2 separate regions of the Homo sapiens genome follow, and region 1 is linked to region 2. Evidence: promoter capture Hi-C in 16 types of primary human blood cells and fetal thymus (Javierre and others, 2016). All regions are on one chromosome and are shown on one strand. The core of a region is centred on a gene start or on the middle of the fragment in contact, and the rest is flanking DNA. Distances in the headings are between cores, read along the strand shown. Region 1 overlaps TOM1L2 (target of myb1 like 2 membrane trafficking protein). Region 2 holds the start of SMCR5 (Smith-Magenis syndrome chromosome region, candidate 5).

Region 1 (4,457 bases), core at 342-2,841, 150 kb after region 2:
TTCACCATGTGAGGTGCCTGCTCTCCCTTCCCCTTCTGCCATGAGTAAAAGCTTCCTGAAGCCTCCTCAGAAGCAGCTGCCAGTACTATGCTTCCTATACAGCCTGCAAAACCATGAGCCAAATAAACCTCTTTTATAAATTACCTAGTCTCAGGTATTTCTTTATGGCAATGCAAGAACAACCTAATACAGCCATTATAAGTAATAATTCTTAAAACCATATAGAAACATTTTGTAATGATGTAAGAAAAAAAAGACACAAAATTGATTTTTAAAAAAACATGCATATGGATAATGCCTGGAAGATAAATGGGAAAAAGTGAAAATAATCAGTGTGTTGAAGTATTTGGCTTAAAGGCAAACTTTAAAAATTTTTTATGTTATTACTGTTACAAAAAGAAGGAAAGAGGATATTATACAGCAAAAGACTAAGAAAGAAAGTGGCAAACTAATGACCAAAACTAAAAGCCAGTTATTTAATTCTTCCATCAAAAATAGCCAGGTATAGCCCAGGCGCAGTGGCTCATGCCTCTAATCCCAGCACTTTGCCACGCTGAGGTGGGAGGATCTCTTGAGCTCAGGAGTTCAAGACCAGCCTGGCCAACATAGCGACCTCACCTCGTGTCTACCAAAAAAAAAAAAAAAAAAAAAAATTAGCCAGATGTGGTAACGCATGCCTATAGTCCCAGCTACTTGGGAGGCTGAGGTAGGAAGATCGCTTGAGCCCAGGAGATGGAGGCTGCAGTAAGCTATGATGGTGCCACTGTACTCTAGCCTGGGTGACACAGTGAGACCCTGTCTCAAAAAAAAAAAAAAAAAGCTAGGTATAGGCTATAGGTTAGTCGTGGTGCCTCATGCCCATAATCCCAGCACTTTGGAAGGCCAAGGCAGGAAGTCCACTTGAGCCCAGGAATTCAAAACCAGCCTGGGTAACACAGCAAGACCTTGTCTCTACCAAAAATTTAAAAATTAGCAGGGCTCAGTGGCACGCACCTGTAGTCCCAGCTACTCCACAGGCTGAGGTGAGAGGATCACTTGAGCACAGGATGTCGAGGCCGCAGTGAGTTGTGATCATACCACTGTATTCTAGCCTGGGGGACAGAGTAAAACTCTGTCTCTTGGAGAAAAAAAAAAAAAAAAGCTAGGTACAAGCTTTCAAGCTGGCCTAAACATAAGTAAGCTTCATTACTTAGTCTGAACATACAGACTTAAGGATAAAAGCCTGGTAACCCCAATATCTCTCAAAAGGCATTTTATTCTGACCAGGCCTCCCTGCTAACTCTCCCTTGTCCCAAAGGAGGTCACCCAGGGTACCCAGCTAGTTAAGGAGGACCAAACTGAGAGCCAGTCTGGACTGGCACAAGGGGAGATGCGGACATAAATGTACACGTGTTTCACATTCCAAAGCCAAATACAATAGGGTTCTAGATCATCTGGGAAATTACTCCTATTCATCAACATAGAAAGGTCACGAATATCAACAGTGAGAACAAACAGGGAAGATTACATTTAAATGTAACCATATTTGGGCCTGGTGTGATGGATTACACCTGTAATCCCAGCAGTTTTGGAGGCCGAGGCGGGCGGATTGCTTGAGCTCAGGAGTTCAAGACCAGCCAACATGGTGAAACTCCATCTTTACAAAATATACAAAAATTAGCTGGGCCTGGTAGCACACGCCTGTAATCCCAGCTACTTGAGAGGTTGAGGCACAAGAATCGCTTGAACCTGGGAGGCAGAGGTTGCAGTGAGCAAGGATCACACCACTGCACTCCTGTCTGGGCGACAGAGAGGGACTCTGTCTCAAAAAAAAGGAAGAAAGAAAAAGAAAAAGAAATGTAACCATATTTAAATATGAAGAAGAGCCCCAACACAAGCATGTATTCCTGTTTATACAATATTCAGGGCTAACAGACTTATCACACACAGGTTGTGTAACTTATTAATGACAATGTGACTTTAAACAGTAGTTCTAAGTGGGTCACCTTGAATAATACGAAACAAAGCTTGCCAAGGGAAACATGCAAATAAGATCAAAATCCAACAGGGAATAGGCATTTTCCTAGCTTTTCGGATTTTTACTGTAGAAAAATAAACACAGTATCTATCTAGTTTCTTTAGCACTAAAAAAACCAACAGCATGAAACTGCATTCTTCAATGGGGGTGGAGTCCAAAGGGACAGGCCCGACATTATTTTCAGCACACTGTACCAAGTCAAGCTGGTATGTGGATAAAGCAGCACAGCTGGGTTTACCATGTGAGTAACGGGCAGAGAGAACCTACCACCCTATGTGGCGCAAACCACATGAGGCCAGCTGCAGAGGCTGTGGAGAGAGGCCTCTCTTTATCCCTTCTTCTTTCCCTCCATCTCTTTCTGAGGCCAGGACCTGCATGCAGACCTTTCTTGATAAAGAACTCAACCTCAATGTGATACATCAAGGGAAACATTCCCTGAAGAACATGGTGGAGCAAATAAACATTTGGCCTCGTGAGAATGGCCACAGAAAACACTAGGGAATCTTAAACTGTCAGTTGGATGACTAGATATTTTATGATATTAAGGATTATGATTAATTTATTTTAGATATGATAATAAGCTGTTGGCTATACTTTTTTTTTTTTTTTTTGAGACAGGATCTCACTCAGTCACTCAGGCTGGGAATGCAGCGGCACAATCTTGGCTCACTGCAGCCTCAACCTTCCAGGCTCAAGTGAGCCTCCCACCCTCAGCCTCCTGAGTAGCTGGGACTACAGGCATGTGCCACCACACCTGGCTAATTTTTGTATTCGTGGTACAGCCAGGGTTTCACTATGTTACCCAGGCCTCCCAAAGTGTTGGGATTACAGGCATGAACCACCACACCCAGTCAGCTATACTTTTAAAAAGATTCCTTATCTTTTAGAAATGCATACTTAGGTATTCATAGATGAAATTATATGATGTCTGGGATTTACTGAAAAATAATCCAGGATAAAAGTGTGTGGGGCTATGGATGAACCAAAACTGCCATGAATTGATAATTGTAGAAGCTCAATGATGAGTATGTGGGGGTTCATTATAGTCATCTTTTTCCTTTTGTATATGTCTGAAATTTTCTGTAACAACAAAAAAAATCAGTAGGAGACAGCATAAAACCATTCATAACTTTGACCCGGCAATAGCCCCCTAAGGAAATAAATAAGGGGGAAGGGGAGAGCTGATTCTGCAAAGATGCATAATTGAGAAAAACACTGCTGCTCCCAACAAACGAGAAGATGGCTAAGCAACGAGGGTACATCAATAAGGCAAAAACGCTACGTGGCTTTTTAAAATGATAAATACTTCAGCCTAGTCGCTAAGTGGAAATCGGCATAGGAATGCTAAGAGGAAAACAGGCAGGATAAAATATTATGTGCATACTAATCACCACAAGGTAAAAATGCATGCTCACATAATGGAAAGGGTCAAAAGAGAACACAGAAGGCGACACCCTCCCTTTAACACTCAGCTCGTTGCCTCCTCTCAGTGAGGGCCCCAGACGGCCCCCGCGTGAGCATGCACACACGAGATGAATTAATTGCACTCTTCTGGGATCTCACAGTCCTCACTTGCTGAGGCTCATCCAGCCCCTATTGCTTGTCTAATGGTTCCTCATGGACCTGCCTTCCCTGATGCACCATGAATTTTACCAGCACACAGTAGGTATTCAATAATGTGTGTCAAACAGAATAGAACATAAATAGCTGCTGTCTGTGTCTCAGGATTTTTTTTTTCTTTAGAGCTATTCCCACCCACAGTAGCCATTCAGGAAAGGCATTCCTCAGTATCAGAGAACAATGCTTCCATTTCTGATTCACAAAGTGCTTCTGCTACGTGGGTTTATGAAGCCAGCAAGGCAAAACAAAATCAAGCAGACTTTCTGTCTAGATCCTTGCTGGACCACACAGAAAAATCCCATTTTGTTTTGCAAGCTTGTAACAAGTCTCATTGCTATGGTTCCTAATACCAAGTCTGAAGATTCCCCAAGCACTGCTGTGAGAACGGGCCTTTCCTTGGCTACTTAAAAATGCTGCATGGCTGCTCTCTGTGGCTGGCACTATAGTAAAGGGTACAAGCCAGAATGCAGTCGGGACTGTGGCTGCTCAGCAGCGTCAGGCGGGGAAGTCAAGAACTGCCCATCTAGACAGAAGTGGGCAGCAACACAGCCTGGGCCATGCTCCACCCAGTCTGAATGTTTCTCCATCTCTTCTGCTTAGAGCTGCTTTGAGCAGCAGGCTTTGGGTGGGTGAGAGGGGTTGATAGGGATATTCAAGAATGTCAGAGCCTGGGCGTGGTGGCTCACGCCTGTAATCCCAGCACTTTGGGAGGCAGGTGGATCACCTGAGATCGGGAGTTCCAGACCAGCCTGACCAACGTGGAGAAACCCCATCTCTACTAAAAATACAAAATTAGCCAGGCGTGGTGGAATGTGCCTGT
Region 2 (4,083 bases), core at 1,396-3,895:
CAAACTCCTATGCTCAAGCAATCCTCCTGCCTTAGCCTCCCAAAGTGCTGGCATTACAGTGTGAGCCACTGCACCCGGCCCTGTACACACTTTCTACACTGCACTTTTTTTCACCAACTTGAAGACTGCTCCAATTAATCCATGTGGTGCTTCCATTCTCTGAGTACTCAGCCAATAGAACCTCCCAGATGTATCTCCCTCATCCCCCTTGGATGGACAGCTAGGGGATCCCGTGTTTTGCTGCTGCAAAGGACATTGCAGTTGGTAGCCTTGTGCAGATGACTTCGGGCCCAGGTTAGAGGGCACATGTAATTTGCATTTGGGTCCATATTGCCAGAAAGCTCTCCAAAGAGGTAGTACCATTTTACCCTCCCATCCCCAACTAGATTGGGCACCTCTTTCCCCATGCCCTCACCAGCTAGGCAGATGCTCTGTGCCAAGAAAACCAAACAGCTGCTTCCCTTACAAATACTCAAGGGCCTGGGCATGTGTGGGGGCCTGAGTCCAGCCTGCACCCGTTACCAACTGCAAGATCTCAGGCAATAGGCTTCACCCCGTGGGGCTCAGTTTCCTCATCTGTAAAACAGTGGTGATTGGATTATGGTGAGAAGTTTGTAGATGCAAATGCCTAGGACAGTGCCTGGAACATCGAGGCCCCAGGTCAGAAGTGGCTGTTCTTACGAGTCTGCATGAGTCTTGTACCCCATGACTGCAGTCATGGGGATGGGGGCCCAGCCCCTAGGATGGATGCTCAGGCCTCAGACCTGTGTTTTGGGAAGGGATGAAGGGAAGGGAAGAGCAATGTGGGGAATTACCAAGGGGAAAGGGTGGGATTAGCTTATCCCAGCTTCCCACTGTGCCAGTGGGGAAACTGAGGCCCAGAGGGGCCCAGGCCTTGAAGTGATTGCAAGTTCAGCAGCATGAAACTGCTCTTTATCCGTGCACTGCTGTCAGGAACAAATGCTGAATGGAGAGTCCGGAGGGTTGCCCAGGCCACTGCAGGACCCAAGCTCTGAGACTGAGGGCTTGGGGACACAGAGCCAGAGCCTTGTCCTGAAATCCTGGAGGGTGCTCCTTGGACAGGACAAAACTTGTATTCTCTCTCTGAGCCCAGCCTCAGCAGAACCCAGAGTCTTCCAGGGCTGAGATCTTGCCGTACCAGCTGCGGTCACAGACCTGCCACACTGGCTTGACCTGGGAGTTCCTTACAGCTGCAGAACCCCTGTCCCACCTGACCCGCTGCATCAAAATCTGCGTCTCACCAGGATGTACACTTTAATGTTTGAGGAGCACTGAGACTCAGCCAGGATGATACTCTACCTGCCTGCAGGTACAGGCCGCTGCTCTATGGGCAGACCTCAACCCTCAGCCCCAGAATGTCCTCCCCAGCTCTGTCGCAGACATACGTGGCTCCCTGGGAGGCATAGAAAGTACAAGACTTGGACCTGGCTCCCCATGAACTGGTGGCCCTGGAAGTTGCTACCTTTTATTGAGCCCCTGCCAGCTACCAAGCACATTATCCCATTTCGTCCCACAACAGCACTGAAAGTTTGCTGTTTAATTTAGAGTATCTTGCAGCTTAGGCACACAAAGCACAGAGAGGTTAAGTAAACTGCCCAAGGTCACCCAGCATATACATATGCAGGAGCTGGGATATGAATCCAGAGCTGACCCCGGCACCAGAGTCTAGCCATTTACAATCAGAGTGGGCATGGGGGCAGATGGTGGCTCCTCTCACCCCTGAAACCGGAGCCCCAGCCCCTATGAGCCCTCACAGTTCATTGGTCTGGCTGTGGTGAATCTGACCTCTCAAAAGCCTCCCTTTCCGGAGCAGAGGCCTGCGATTCTCCATGCTGGAGAGCCCGCCAAGAGGGATTCTCCTACAACTTTCCAGAACACAGCAGTTCTGGGGCCAGGCCAAGCTAGCTATGTACAGCTGGAAGAGGCTCTCTCCCCCAGATGCTGAGTGACTAGAAGCCAAGAGGGAGGGAGTTCTGGAATGGTCTGCAGCAGCTGGAGGTGAGGCCTGAGGGGGCTGGGGCGGGGCCTGGGAAGAGGGGCCAGTGCACAGAGTATTCTGAACCGCAGAAAGTATTCTGTTCACTCTGGGAGAAAAACAAGAGTGTTGTTCAAAACAGCTGGACGCCAGGCCCAGTTGCCCTCGCCTGGTTTTTACTCTTAAACACCTTCGCATTTCATGGCTGTTCCAAAGAGAGAGAAATCAGCCAGTTGTCCATTCAGACACAAGACAAGGCATCAGCCGACAACCAAAGGCAAATATTTTCCGTGGTGAGGAAAGCCTCCCGGGTGGCCCCAGGCCTGCCTCTGGAGCAGTGGCTGGCTGGTGGCTGGCTCTCCCCGAAGGTCGCTGCTTCTGGTCAGCAGACTGCGTGTCTGGGGGACTGGCCAGGATCCGCACCCACCCAGGGAGCGCTGGGGGCAGCGGGGCGGCCATCCTAGGCCCGTAGTAAATGGAAGCTCCCTTCCTGGCATGAGAGCAGCCAGGCCTCCAGGGAGGCCAGGACAGCGTGGGCCCCACAGTTCCCTGTCTTGAAACCCCAGCCCTTGATATCAAAATGGGACCTGTTAGTCTGTTGTCGGGGAGGGGGATTTAACTGCCCAAAGCTCTTAGGCCCTGAGTGAATTTTTTTCAGCACAACAGTAGCTACACACAGTTGAAGAGTGTGGCACATGGCTACATAGGGTTTGTATTTGGTCTACAGATGAAGGAACAAGACCCATGTGGACTTAGGCCTCATTATCATAATTCTGCAGCCCCAGGAGCCAAATCCCCACATGGAAACCCTTAGTAGGTAGCCTGGCCAAGTGGGTAGCGGGAAATCAGTGATGGTAGGCCCTGGGACTTCTCTCTAGTCCCCTCCCCACCCTTTTTTTTTTTTTTTTTTTTTAATAGACGGAGTCTCGCCCTTGCCCAGGCTGGAGTGCAGTGGCGCGATCTTGGCTCACTGCAGGCTCCGCCCCCCGGGGTTCACGCCATTCTCCTGCCTCAGCCTCCTGCATAGCTGGGACTGCAGGCACCCGCCACCTCGCCCGGCTAATTTTTTGTATTTTTAGTAGAGACGGGGTTTCACCGTGTTAGCCAGGATGGTCTCGATCTCCTGACCTCATGATCCGCCTGCCTCGGCCTCCCAAAGTGCTCGGATTACAGGAGTGAGCCACTCCACCCAGGCTTTTTTTTAAGACAAGAGTTTTACTCTTGTCCCCAGGCTGGAGTGCAATGGCGCAATCTTGGCTCACTGCAACCTCCGCCTCCCAGGTTCAAGCAATTCTCATGCCTCAGCCTCCCGAGTAGCTGGAATTACAGGCGCATGCTACCATGTCAAGTTAATTTTTATATTTTTAGTAGAGACGGGGTTTCAACATGTTTGCCAGGCTGGTCTCAAACTCCTGACTTCAAGTGATCCACCCACCTTGGCCTCCCAAAGTGCTAGGATTACAGGCGTGAGGCATCGCACCCGGCCACCCACCCTTTTTTTCTCCCAAGAAAACCAGTTTTCTGAAATTTTCAGGGGGAACCAGGACCTCCTCGCCCATGTCTTTCACCCCTGGGTGCCTGTATCCTGTATTCACCAAAGCCCCACGGGCATCTCCCCGATTGAGGTCCCACCCCTCAGGGCCTAGGACAGGGGGACCAGGGAGGGCCCCCAGAGGCTGGAGTTTGGAATACCCCCTTCTCTTCTCTGGAGCTCAGTTTGCATGTCTGTGAAATGACAGGTGATGTCACCTCCCAGAAGGGCAGTTTGAGAGAAGTAAAATCTATTGAGGCACCTTGGACACAGGAGGGGGTCAGACGGCATCAGCCTTTGAGGGTGCTGCAGTTACACGGCTCCAGCAGTCTGAGCCTTATCAAGACCTTTCCAGATATGAGGGAAGTCCATGCCCAGTGTCTAGCTGGCTGGGGGAGAAGCCCCTTGAGAACCCCCACTCTGTAATGCTAGGCTCTGCATTTGCTTAGGAGGCTGTGTCCCTGTCTCTCCCCTTCTGGGCCAGCCTTGCTTTCTGGGCAGGCCCAGGAGTGTCCCGGGCCCAGCACTCAGAGTCAGCGCTGTCTTTAATCTGTAT

The links. The method cuts DNA at HindIII sites, captures the fragments that hold promoters and counts their contacts. A CHiCAGO score of 5 or more calls a contact.
Region 1: a fragment that was not itself captured here is called in contact with the fragment with the promoter of SMCR5 in region 2 in 1 of 17 cell types (fetal thymus); the score reaches 5.3 in fetal thymus.

Annotation. Positions count from the first base shown.
Region 1 is chr17:17,925,053-17,929,509 of GRCh38, forward strand. All of the region lies in intron 1 of TOM1L2 (target of myb1 like 2 membrane trafficking protein), which reads right to left. Among named protein-coding and RNA genes, the nearest start is that of TOM1L2, 45 kb to the right of the region's middle. The HindIII fragment of the contact is 826 bases long and covers 1,179-2,004 here.
Region 2 is chr17:17,776,884-17,780,966 of GRCh38, forward strand. It overlaps SMCR5 (Smith-Magenis syndrome chromosome region, candidate 5), which reads right to left and starts at 2,646. Exons shown (of 1, transcript NR_024007.1): 1 at 1-2,646. All of the region lies in intron 2 of RAI1 (retinoic acid induced 1), which reads left to right. All of the region lies in intron 1 of LOC124903942 (a long non-coding RNA gene), which reads right to left. RefSeq lists enhancers at 1,873-2,762, 3,652-4,083. The HindIII fragment of the contact is 16,515 bases long and covers 1-4,083 here.